Linked DNA regions of Homo sapiens: region 1 is linked to region 2. The links are contacts of gene promoters, found by promoter capture Hi-C in human tissues and cell types (Jung and others, 2019). All regions are on one chromosome and are shown on one strand. Each heading gives the region's core, a stretch centred on a gene start or on the middle of the fragment in contact. The rest is flanking DNA. Distances are from core to core; before and after follow the strand shown. Region 1 overlaps RAD51 (RAD51 recombinase). Region 2 holds the start of PPP1R14D (protein phosphatase 1 regulatory inhibitor subunit 14D).

What was found. The method cuts DNA at HindIII sites, captures the fragments that hold promoters and counts their contacts. A contact is called where the count stands out against the background at its distance.
Region 1: a fragment that was not itself captured here is called in contact with the fragment with the promoter of PPP1R14D in region 2 in 3 of the 25 tissues and cell types used here (aorta, heart left ventricle and lymphoblastoid cells).

What each region holds. Positions count from the first base shown.
Region 1 is chr15:40,704,440-40,710,355 of GRCh38, reverse strand. RAD51 (RAD51 recombinase) reads right to left here. Exons shown (of 10, transcript NM_002875.5): 4 at 4,062-4,179; 5 at 1,240-1,331. Among named protein-coding and RNA genes, the nearest start is that of RAD51, 12 kb to the right of the region's middle. The HindIII fragment of the contact is 4,221 bases long and covers 2,451-5,916 here.
Region 2 is chr15:40,826,802-40,833,389 of GRCh38, reverse strand. It overlaps PPP1R14D (protein phosphatase 1 regulatory inhibitor subunit 14D), which reads left to right and starts at 4,682. Exons shown (of 4, transcript NM_017726.8): 1 at 4,682-5,003. The coding sequence starts at 4,749. The HindIII fragment of the contact is 14,686 bases long and covers 1-6,588 here.

The DNA.
Region 1 (5,916 bases), core at 3,312-5,811, 120 kb after region 2:
TAATTTTTGTATTTTTAGTAGAGACAGGGTTTCACCATGTTGGCCAGGCTGGTCTTGAACTCCTGATCTTTTTTTTTTCTTCTTCTTTTTTTTTTTTTTTTTTTTTTTTTTTTTGAGACAGAGTCTCGCTCTGTCGCCCAGGCTGGAGTGCAGTGGCGCAATCTCGGCTCACTGCAAGCTGTGCCTCCCGGGTTCACGCCATTCTCCTGCCTCAGCCTCCCAAGTAGCTGGGACTACAGGCACCCGCCACCACGCCCAACTAATTTTTTGTATTTTTAGTAGAGATGGGGTTTCACTGTGTTAGCCAGGATGGTCTCAATCTCCTGACCTTGTGATCCGCCCACCTCGGCCTCCCAAAGTGCTGGGATTACAGGCGTGAGTCACCGCGCCCAGCCAAACTCTTGATCTCAAGTGATCCACCCGCCTCGGCCTCCCAAAGTACTGGGATTACAGGCGTGAGCCACCGTGCCTGGCCTGTCATCTTGAATTTAAAGTGAAGTCAGTCAGCTGTATGATACGATTTTTCTCCAGTATAATCAGCTATTTGGGTACAGACACTGAGAAGATAGATGAGTTTCATCTAAGGTTGGCATCTCTTCAAGTGGGTATGTAAACTGAGGCTATCTGCAAGAGAATTACTTTAATGATGAATCATAAAATCTAGACTAATGAAGAAGATGGAGGGCTGGGCGCAGTGGCTTACGCCTATAATTCCAGCACTTGGGAGGCCAAGGTGGGTGGATCACTTGAGATCAGGAGTTCAAGAGGAGCCTGGCCAACATGGTGAAACCCCCTCTCTACTAAAAACACAAAAATTAGCCGGGCATGCTGGTGGGCGCCTGTAATCCCAGGTACTCGGGAGGTTGATGAAGGAGAATCACTTGAACCAGAGAGGAGGTTGCAGTGAGCTGAGATCACACCACTGTACTTCAGCCTGGGCGACACAGCGAGATTCTGCCTCAAAAAAAAAAAAAAAAAAAAAAAGTAGCAAGTAAAGCCAGGAAAAGGCCTGGTAGCAAAAGTATTTGAAATTAACGTATCTGATAGGAGATCAATGATTTGGAAGTTTCTATGACATGGAAGGATTTTGAAGTAGGAGTCTATCTTCTAACTATTAACAGCTATAAGATTCTTGAGGACAGAGAAAGTACCTTTTATGGCCATCCTAACAGATGCTTGCAAATAGCAGGAATGAAGTAATGCTTGCTTATTTGATTAGCTATAGCCCCAACAGCTCACCTGGCAGGTGACAGCTAGCGTATGACAGATCTGGGTCTTCCCAGTTCGGAATTCTCCAAACATTTCTGTGATAGATCCAGTCTCAATTCCACCTAAAAAAGCGATAAGAAATAACTCTTAGCATAATACAAACATGTAGAAACTGTAGTCATAGAAATGTTCTTGGAGCTCATCAGAAAGATGTTTATGTAAGTTAAAAATTCAATTTCCAACAAGCGATAATTTTTCACAAATGTATTTTGAGGCTAGCCGTGGTGGCTCATGCCTGTAATCCCAGCACTTTAGGAAGCTTAGGTGGGTGGATTGCTTGAGTTCAGGAGTTCGAGACCAGCCTGGGCAACATGGTGAAGCCCTGTCTCTACAAAAATTAGCCGGGCATGGTGGCGGATGCCTGTAGTACCAGCTACTCAGGAGCTAAGGTGAGAGGATCACTTGAGCCTGGGAGGCAGAAGTTGCAGTGAGCCAAAATCGTGCCAGTGCACTCTAGCCTGGGTGACACAGTGAGACCCTGTTTCAAAACAAACAAACAAACAAACAAATAAACCAAAAGTATTTTGAAATAATTAGATTTATAGATAGCTGCAAATAAGGCCAGGTGCGGTGGCTCACACCTGTAATCCCAGCACTTTAGGGGGCCGAGGCGGGCTGATCACCTGAGGTCAGGAGCTCGAGACCAGCCTGGCCAACATGGTGAAACCTCATGTCTACTAAAAATACAAAACTTAGCTGGAACTGGTGATGGGCACCTGTAATCCCAGCTACTAGCAGGCTGAAGCAGGAGAATCACTTGAACCTGGGAGGCGGAGGCTGCAGCAAGCCGAGATCACGCCACTGCACTCCAGCCTGGGTGACAAAGTGAGACTCCTCAAAAAAAAAAAAAAAAAAGCTGGGCACAATATGGTGAAACCCTGTCTCTACTAAAAATACAAAAATTAGCTGGGCATGGTGGTGCATGCCTGTAGTCCCAGCTACTCGGGAGGCGGAGGCAGAAGAATAGCTTGAACCTGGGGGCGGAAGTGGCAGTGAGCCAAGATCATGCCACTGCACTCCAGCCGGGGTGACATAGCAAGACCCCATCTCAAAAAAAAAAAAAAAAAAAAAAGCTGGGCACAGTGGCTCATGCCTGTAATCCCAGCACTTTGGGAGGCCGAGGTGGATGGATCAGGAGGTCAGGACTTTGAGACCAGCCTGGCCAAGACGGTGAAATCCCGTCTCTACTAAAAATACAAAAATTAGCCAGGCACGGTGGCGGGTGCCTGTCATTGCAGCTACTCAGGAGACTGAGGCAGGAGAACTGCTCAAACCTGGGAGTCAGTGGTTGCAATGAGCCGAGATTGTGCCACTGCATTCTAGCCTGGGCAACAGAGCAAGACTCTGTCTTTAAAAAACAAACAAACAAACCAACAACAACAAAAAAAAACATACGAAATTTCTATGCACCTAGCCTTCTGCAGTGTTAACCTCTTGCATAATGATAGTATAGCACTGATATTAGAAAACTGACATTGGGGGCCAGGCATGATGGCTCACGCCTGTAAGCCCAGCACTTTGGGAGGCTGAGGCGGGTAGATCATCTGAGGTCAGGAGTTCGAGACCAACCTAGCCAACGTGGTGAAACCTCATCTCTACTAAAAATACAAAAATTAGCTGGGCATGGTGGCACTTGCCTGTAGTCCCAGCTACTTGGGAGGCTGAGGCAGGAGAATCACTTGAACCCAGGAGGCGGAGGTTGCAGTGAGCTGAGATTATGCCACTGCACTCCAGCCTGGGTAACAGAGTGAGACTCTGTCTCAAAAAAAAGGGAAAGAAAACTGACATTGGGCCAGGCAAGGTGGCTCAAGCCTATAATCCCAGCACTTTGGGAGGCTGAGGCAGGAGGATGGCTTGAGCTCAGGATTTTGAGACCAGCCTGGGCAACATAATGAGTGATGCCCCGACTCAAAAAAAAAAAAAAAAAAAAAAAAAATTAGCCAGGTGGTAAATGATCATAGTCCTAGCTTGGGGAGACTGAGGCTAGAAGATCACTTGAGCCCAGGAAGCAGAGGTTGCAGTGAGCTGAGACCATGCCACTGCACTCCAGCCTGGGTGACAGAGTGAGACCCTGTCTCGAAAAATAAATAATAAGGTCAAAAGCTTTATAGTTTTCCCTGAAGTCCTGAAGATTAGTGTGTACACAATGAGTAGTATTCAAACATGGAATGTTTTAACCAGTCATCAGGTTTTCAACCCTGTGGTAGAGTAGGTTATAATTACAGTTACCTCCTTAAGCAAAAGGAGCTTACTCTCTTAACACAATATTAAATGGAGACTAAATTATTTAATTTGCAGATAAGTTTAGTATTTTATAAATAAGGTCCTACCTTGCAGCAGTCTTACCTCTTCAATGTGGATACTTCCTTTATCTCTCTTTGTTTTTGAGACAGAGTTTTGCTCGTCACCCAGGCTGGAGTGCAGTGGCACAATCTTGGCTCACAGCAACCTCCGTCTTCCGGGTTCAAGTGATTCTCCTGCCTCTGCCTCCCGAGTAGGCATGTGCACCTACAGGGATTACAGGCATGTGCCACCATGCCCAACTAATTTTGTATTTTTAATAGGTTTCTCCATGTTGGCTGGGCTGGTCTCGAACTCCCAGCCTCAGGTGATCTGCCCACCTCAGCCTCCCAAAGTGCTGAGATTACAGGCATAAGCCACTGCACCTGGCCTTCCTCTATCTCTTTATCATTATCTAACAAGGAAATGCTACACAAATATTTCAGTTTTGTTTTATAACCTGGAAGCTTTCCTAACTAGAGTTCACAACACAGGATAAAGGATTACTACACCTTGAAGTAGTTTGTCAAGCTCTTTGGAGCCAGTAGTAATCTGTATGATCTCTGACCGCCTTTGGTGGAATTCAGTTGCAGTGGTGAAACCCATTGGAACTAATTTAGCTGCCTCAGCCTGGGAAAAATAAGAAATATTAAATCAACAAAATAATATTCCTTACCACAGTGATCTTGATGGCAAAAAAATATATATAAAGAAAAAAGAAATATTAGTAAAACAAGGTGTGCAATGGGAAGAGAAAATATCAAATAAAATTACCAGGATGATTTCTCTTTAGAAAGTCATAAAAAAGGATAATCTAATTCAGAGATTCCATGAAGATCAATTTTTAAATTGCCAATTCAAGTTAATATATTAATATAGTTTTAAAAACTATTATAGATCCGGCCGGGTGCGATGGCTCACGCCTGTAATCCCAGCACTTTGGAAGGCCAAGGCAGGCGGATCACAACGTCAGGAGATCGAGACCATCCTGGCTAACATGGTGAAACCCCATCTCTACTAAAAAAATACAAAAAATTAGTCGGGCGTGGTGGCGGGTGCCTGAAGTCCCAGCTACTTGGTAGGCTGAGGCAGGAGAAAGGCGTGAACCCGGGAGGCGGAGCTTGCAGTGAGCCGAGATCGCGCCACTGTACTCCAGCCTGGGGGACAGAGCGAGACTCTGTCTCAAAAAACAAAACAAAACAAAACAAAAAACTATTAGAGATCCGTACATATGTGTTTTGCCCAATTTATGACAAAAATGACAATACAGTACACCTTCATTTCCTGCTCCATCAACCGCAGACTGTATCCCTTAACTTCCTACTTTGTAAAAATGAGGACATTTGCCCTTCAATCTTTTCTCTCTCCATGGCTACTTCCCCACCTCTATCAGCTGTACCTTTTCTTTCATATTGTCTGGCTGAGAACATTCACATTCTATTTTGTAATTACAGATAAGTGTTCTGTAATAGCACTATGGGTTGATTCTAAAATTGAAAAGTAAGTGCATTCACAAATATGCAAAAATAAAGCAACACACTCCTAAATAAGCAACAAGTCAAAGAAGAAATGACAAGGGAAATCAGAAAATGTTTTTGCAATGAATGAAAACGAAGATATACCAAAACGTATGGGCTCCAAGAAAAGCAGTGCTTAGAGAGAAATTCATAGCTATAAACAGCTATATTAGAAAAGAAGGCTGGGTGTGGTGAATCACACCTGTAATCCCAGCACTTTGGGAGGCTGAGGTGGGAGGACTGCTGGAAGCCAGGAGTTTGAGACCAGCCTGAGTAACAAAGCAGCACCCTGGCTCTAAAAATGTTTTAAAATTAGCAGGGTGGCTGGGTGTGGTGGCTCACCTCTGTAATCTCAGAACTTTGGGAGGCTGAGGTGGGCAGATCACAAGGTCAGGAGTTCAAGACCAGCCTGACCAACATGGTGAAACTTCCTCTCTACTAAAAATACAAAAATTAGCCGGGCGTGGTGGCACGCGCCTGTAGTCCCAGCTACTCGGGAGGCTGAGGTGGAAGAATCACTTGAATCTGGGAGGCGGAGGTTGCAGTGAGCTGAATTTGCACCACTGCACTCCAGCCTGAGAGACACAGCGAGATTCCATCTCAAAAAAAAAAAAAAAAATTAGTAGGGCATGGCTGGGCATGGTGGCTCATGCCTGAATCCCAGCACTTTGGTAGGGTGAGGTGGGCAGATCACGAAGTCAGGAGTTCAAGACCAGCCTGCCCAATATGGTGAAACCCCATTTCTACTAAAAATACAAAAAATAGCTGGGCGTGGTGGCGTGCGCCTGTAGTCCCAACTACTCAGGAGGCTGAAACAGGAGAACTGCTTGAACCCGGGCGGCGGAGGTTG
Region 2 (6,588 bases), core at 3,433-5,932:
ATCTCCTGACCTCATGATCTGCCCGCCTTGGCCTCCCAAAGTGCTGGGATTACAGGAGTGAGCCACTGCGCCCGGCTATAATAAAGTTTTTATAAAAGAAAAGACATTTAAAAAGAGCAGCCTGGTTCTGCTGGAGTCTGCCTGCTGCCCATTTCATCTCAGCACTGGACCTGGCCCAAGCCAGGAGAGCAGGCAGGCACCTTTCTCCCTGCCCAGGCCCCCACCCTCTTTTTCTGCCCTGATGTGGCTGTGTGCTCCTGGTGGCTTTTATCTCTTATCTCATCTTGGATCTTGAGCTCCCTTATCTTTGGGCAAACTTACTGATGAATGGTGGTACCAATAGGCCAGGGAGGAGATGTGGGTCAGTGCTAAGTTGGAAGGATATAATAAGGAGCCTCTTGCTATAAATAATGGACATCACTCATTAGTGTGCCATCAAGCTTCATGGTATCCATGCTGTGTGCTCATATAGAATCTTATCAACCCCCAGTTTACGAATGAAACATGTTTTTTTTTTGTTTGCTTTGTTTTTCGTTTTTTGGTGGTTTTTTTTTTTTTGAGATGGAGTTTTGCTCTTGTTGCCCAAGCTGGAGTGCAATGGCGCGATCTCGGCTCACCGCAACCTCCGCCTCCCAGGTTCAAGCGATTCTCCTGCCTCAGCCTCCCTAGTAGCTGGGATTACAGGCATGTGCCACCACGCCCGGCTAATTTTGTATTTTTAGTAGAGACGGGGTTTCTCCATGTTGGTGAGGCTGGTCTCGAACTCCTGACTTCAGGTGATCCGCCCGACTCAGCCTCCCAAAGTGCAGGGATTACAGGCATGAGCCACCGCGCCCGGCCTGAAACATGTTCACAGAGGCTGCATGTATGCATCTGTCTGTCCCTGTGTAGGCTTTCATAAAGTTTGCATGTTTGTGTGTCCCCAGCCCATTACCAGTCAATATCTGTTAAACGTTACCTCCTAAATAGCTGTCCAATTTGCCTGCTTCTTGCCATTGACAGCACTACCTCCCCTACTAGCTTTACTGCAATGGCCTTCCAACTGGCCTCCACCAGCCCTTCTGTGCCCTCTGATTGTCTTTCTGTGCAACAGCCACGGTGATTGTTTGGAAGTTTAAATCTGAACATGTCAACTTGCCCAAGCACCATTGCTTAAGACTCTTCAGTGCCTGCCCAATGCCCTTAAGATGGAGACAAAATTCCTCAACGTGGCTTACAGGGCCCTGCCTGGGTACCTCAACCCTTTCTCCTGCCTCACTTTTCCCTCTCTCCTCCCTCTGTTCCAGCCCCATTGACCCTCTTAGTCCCTTGTACTCACCATCTCCCTTCTGCCACAGGGCCTTTGCATGTCCTCTGCATTCTGCCAGGCCCATCCCTGCTGGCTCCTAGGCCAGTTTAACTTCTACTCATCTGTCAGAACTCAGTCCAGATGTTATCACTTTCCAGGTTACACCTCCATTAGACATTCATATAGCACCTCCTACTTTTCTTCAAATCACTAAATGAAATTGCAATTTTACATTTATTTGATGAGTTGATTATTGTTTGTTTATTTTCACACTAGACTATAAGTTCCTTCCATGAAGGCAGGGACTGTGTCTCTTTTGTTCTTCTTTGTTTGTTTTTTGTTTTGTTTGTTTTTTGTTGTTATTGTTGTTGTTGTTATTTTTTGGGGTTTTTTTGAGACAGAGTTTCGCTCTTGTTGCCCAGGCTGGAGTGCAATGGCACGATCTCAGCTCACTGCAACCTCCGTCTCCTGGGTTCAAGCAATTCTCTTGCCTCAGCCTCCCAAGTAGCTGGGATTACAGGCACCCACCACCACGCCTGGCTAACTTTTTGTATTTTTAGCAGAGATGAGGTTTCACCATGTTGACCAGGCTGGTCTGAAACTCCTGACCTCAGGTGATCCACCCACCTCAGCCTCCCAAACTGTTGGGATTACAGGTGTGAGCCACCGTGCCTGCCCTTTGTTTAGTTTTTACAGAGACAAGGTCTCACTATGTTGATCAGGCTGGTCTTGAACTCCTGACTTCAAGCAATCTTCTCGCCTCAGCCTCCCAAAGTGCTGGGATCACAGGTGTGACCCACCGTGCCCATCCTGTGGCTCTTGAATAACCACTGAGCATAATGTTTGGCCTACCAGGGGAGCTCATAAAATCTTTGTTAAATGAGTGAGTAAATAAATGAACAAAACACAGTGACTCTTCTCATCTAGTTTCTTTTCCCGAAAGGGCTCTCAAACCCTTCAGAAGATAGGAAACAGAAGAGGCAGGGAACTACCATAATAATGCCTCCTGGCCACAGACTGTTAAAGTGACAGCTGAGTCAACAAGATGCATCCTAGAGGCCCCCCTCCTCCTGCTCAGGAAGAGAGCCACACTGATGAAAGCCCAGGCATTGACCACCAGAGCCTCGCCAGGAGGGCAGGGAGAGTGGGGAGGTAAATAAAGGACAGGAATGAATGTCTACTGACAGGGACTCTGTTTCAGATGCCATGCTAAATGTTTACATGCATCATCTCATTTTATCTTCCCAACAAGCCCAATCTGCAGATGTGAAAACAGGCTATGAAACTTGGCCAAGGATTATAAAACCAATGCAGGGCAAAGCTGAGTTGAACTCAGATTGTCAGCCTTCCTCCAAAGCCTGGGCTTTTCCTGGCTGCCATCTTAGTTTCCAGCCACTCAAACACCTCCCTTATCTTCTTAAGTGAGGGCCTAAAATTTCATCATTAAACTGTCATCCATTCGCCTTTTTCCTTTTTTGAGACAGGGTCTTGCTCTGTCACCCATGCTTAAGTGCAGTGTTGCCATTGTAGCTCACTGTAGCCTTGAACTCCTGGGCTGAAGTGATTTTCCCACCTTCCAAGCAGCTAGGATGACAGGTGTGCACCACCATATCTGAGTAATCTTGCTTTTCATTTTTTACTTTTTTTTTTTTTTTTTTTTTGAGACGGGGTCTTGCTCTGTCACCCAGGCTGGAGTGCAGTGGCATGATCTCGGCTCACTGCAACCTCCGCCTCCTGGGCCCAGGCGATTCTCCTCCCTCAGCCTCCTGAATAGTTGGGGCTACAGACGTGTGCCACCACGCCCGGCTAATTTTTGTATTTTTAGTAGAGACAGGGTTTTGCCATGTTGGCCAGGCTGATCTCAAACTCCTGACCTCAAGTCATCTGTCCACCTCAGCCTCCCAAAGTGCTGGGATTACAGGCATGAGCCACCGTGCCTGGCCCATTGTTTACATTTTTTAATGGAGACAAGATCTCACTGTGTTGCCCGGACTGGTCTTGAACTACTGGCCTCAAGCAATCTTCCCGCCTGGGTCTCCCAAAGCAGCTAATTTTTTGTATTATTATTATTTTTTTTTTTGGTAGAGAGAGAATTTCACCATTTTGCCCAGGCTGGTCTTGAACTCCTGAGCTCAAGCAATCCACGCGCCTCGGCCTCCCAGAGTGCTGGGATTACAGGCGTGAGCCACCATGCCTGGCCCCATTTTAAAAAAATTACAGGCTGGGCACGGTGGCTCACTCCAGTAATCCCACCACTTTGGGAGGCCGAGGCGGGTGGATCATGAGGTCAGGCATTTGAGACCAGCCTGGGCAACATAGTGAAACCTCGTCTCTACTAAAAATACAAAAAATTATCCGGGCATGGTGGTGGGCGCCTGTAATCCCAGCTTCTTGGGAGGCTGAGGCAGGAGAATTGCTTGAACTTGGGAGGCGGATGTTGCAGTGAGCCAAGATCGCAGCATTGCCCCCCAGCCTGGGTGACAGTGCGAGACTCCATCTCAAAAAAAAAAAAAAAAAAATTACAGTGTTCTTCTGTCACTTTTTTTTTTTAAAGTTTAGAAATTTTCATTATAAAAGACTAAACAAAAATACCCTGCCTTAGAATGCAAGTATGTATGCCTGGAAGTATTAGTCCCTGACACCTGTGTATAAGTTAGGTTTGCAGGTTTCCTCTGTGTCAGCAAATACATGAATCGGGGGAGGGTCACGTGGTAATAAACATGGCTTCCTAAGCAGTTGCCTCAGGGGAGCGGGCATAGTAGACAAGTCTTGATAAATTTGCCTTTACAAGCAGGTAAACTGCCTTTATAGGCCAGGCTGATAGCAGTTTACATTCGGACACACCCAGACACTGGGGGCACTGGTCCTACGGGAGCCATCAATAACTGACCTCCAACTCTATCTACCAGCTGGGGCTCTGCCCCCAGTAGTGCTACGCTCTGAGTAAGAATCCCTGCCAGCCAGGGACCCTGCTTCTGCGGAATCTGACCACAGCTTCTCAGAGCCCAGAGTGGATCCAGCCCCAGGAAGGTGGGATACAGAGGGATCTCAGGTGAGAACGACTCAGGTCCCATTCCAGAGCTGGCCATAGAGCAGCGATTGGAGCCCTGTACCCTTCAGGACCCCAGGGCCCCTTCCTCCTCCCTGGGCATGGCAGCCTCTTGACCTTTGCTCATCTGCAGTTTATGCCACTTTGGGCCCTAGAAGCTGCAGAAAGGGAGGCTGGGGCATGGCTCTGGAGTGCCACTCACTGGCTGGCAGTGAGGAGCCAGGAGACTGGCATTCCCAGCACCAAAGTCCTATTGATCTTTGCCCTTGCCCCTCCCTGGGAGCCTTGGCCCTCCTCCTGCCTTCATTTCTTCTCTGCTGGCCTCTCCTGTTCTCTGTCTCCTCACTTCCCTCTGTGGCTCTGCTCAGAACTGGCGGTTTTTCCCAGCTCCTTGCCCAGACCAATACTTCCATGCTGTCTTCAAGCCCTGCTTCCTGCACATCTCCCAGCCCAGATGGGGAGAACCCATGTAAGAAGGTCCACTGGGCTTCTGGGAGGAGAAGGACATCATCCACAGACTCAGAGTCCAAGTCCCACCCGGACTCCTCCAAGATACCCAGGTCCCGGAGACCCAGCCGCCTGACAGTGAAGTATGACCGGGGCCAGCTCCAGCGCTGGCTGGAGATGGAGCAATGGGTGGATGCTCAAGTTCAGGAGCTCTTCCAGGTAGGTAGCACAGCGGATAGTGGGAGGAGATGGGGGCCTGGGGTCCACCCAGGGCACTGAGACCTTCACAGGAGCTGGAGGGCTGATGTGAGGTGCTTCCGTGAAGAGAAAGCTTTTGTAACTGATGAAAGAAAGAAGCATCGGTTTGAAGTCCAGAAGTCTGCCTCCCTCTAGGCTTGTCTGTGCCTCTAATGCTCTTTGTGATCTGGGGAAGGTCTTTTAACATCCCTAATCTATAATAGGGCTGTTAGTGCCTGTCATATCTCCTTTATAGGACTTTCTGAGGCTCAAATGAGACAATAGAAGGGAAAATGCTTGGTCACACTATGTTTCAAAATTTTATATCTTTATTTACTCCCATGTTCAATGCACATACATGTCCGGAGCTACATTTTCGTTTCTTTTCTTTTTCTTTGTTTCTTTCTTTCTTTCTTTCTTTTGTTTTTTGTTTGTTTGTTTGTTTTTGAGACAAAGTCTTGCCCTGTTGCACAGGCTGGAATGCAGTAGTGCAATCTCAGCTCACTGCTCTGCCTGCTGGGTTCAAGCCATCCTCCCACTTCAGCCTCCTGAGTAGCTGGGACTACAGGTGCGCACCACCACGCCTGGCAAATTTTTTTGTATTTTTTTTTGTAGAGACGGCTTTTCACCATGTTGCCCAGGCTGGTCTTGAACTCCTTGGCTCAAACAGTCTGCCTGCCTCGGCCTCTCAAAGTGCTGGGATTACAGGTGTGCACCACCATGCCCAGCCTAGAGCTACATTTTCCAATTCTGTAGCCATCAGCCATGTGTAGCTGTTTGACTTTAAATGAGTTATAATTAAATAAAATTATTCAGTTCCCCAGTCACATGGGCCACATTTCTTTTTTCTTTTGCCTTTTTTTGAGACAGTCTTACTCTGTAAACCAGCCTGGAGTGCAATGCCGTGATTTTGGCTCACTGCAACCTCCGCCTCCCAAGTTCAAGCGATTCTCCTGCCTCAGCCTCCCGAGTAGCTGGGATTACAGGCATGCGCCACTGTGCCCGACTAATTTTGTATTTTTAGTAGAGACGGGGTTTCTCCATGTTGGTCAGGCTGGTCTCGAACTCTCGACCTCAGGTGATCTGCCCACCTCAGCCTCCCAAAGTGCTGGGATTACAGGCGTGAGCCACCGCACCCAGCCAACATGGGCCACATCTCAAGTGTTAAATAGCCCCATGTGGCTAGTGACTACTATGTTGTCAGCACAAATATAGAATATTTTCGTTATTTCAGAATGGACAGTGCGGGACTAGAATGTTAAGAGTAACCAAAGTTGAGTGCCAATACCAGGACCTAAGCAATCTTTGACCCTGGCTCTGACTAACACTCTTCAACCCCACTCTGGGAAAAGGACAGGTCTTGGTCCCTGGTTACTGGAAACGGCACTTTCTTACTTATATACCTTTAAACCTGGATTCTAGAGAGGTAAGAACTGCTGTTCCAGCAATAAGAATAACATTCTGAACACAACTACGTGCTAGGCTCAATGCCAGGCACTGACATGCATTCTTTCATTTAATCCTTCCCACAACTCCATTAAGCAAGTACTGTTTTTCTTTTTTTATA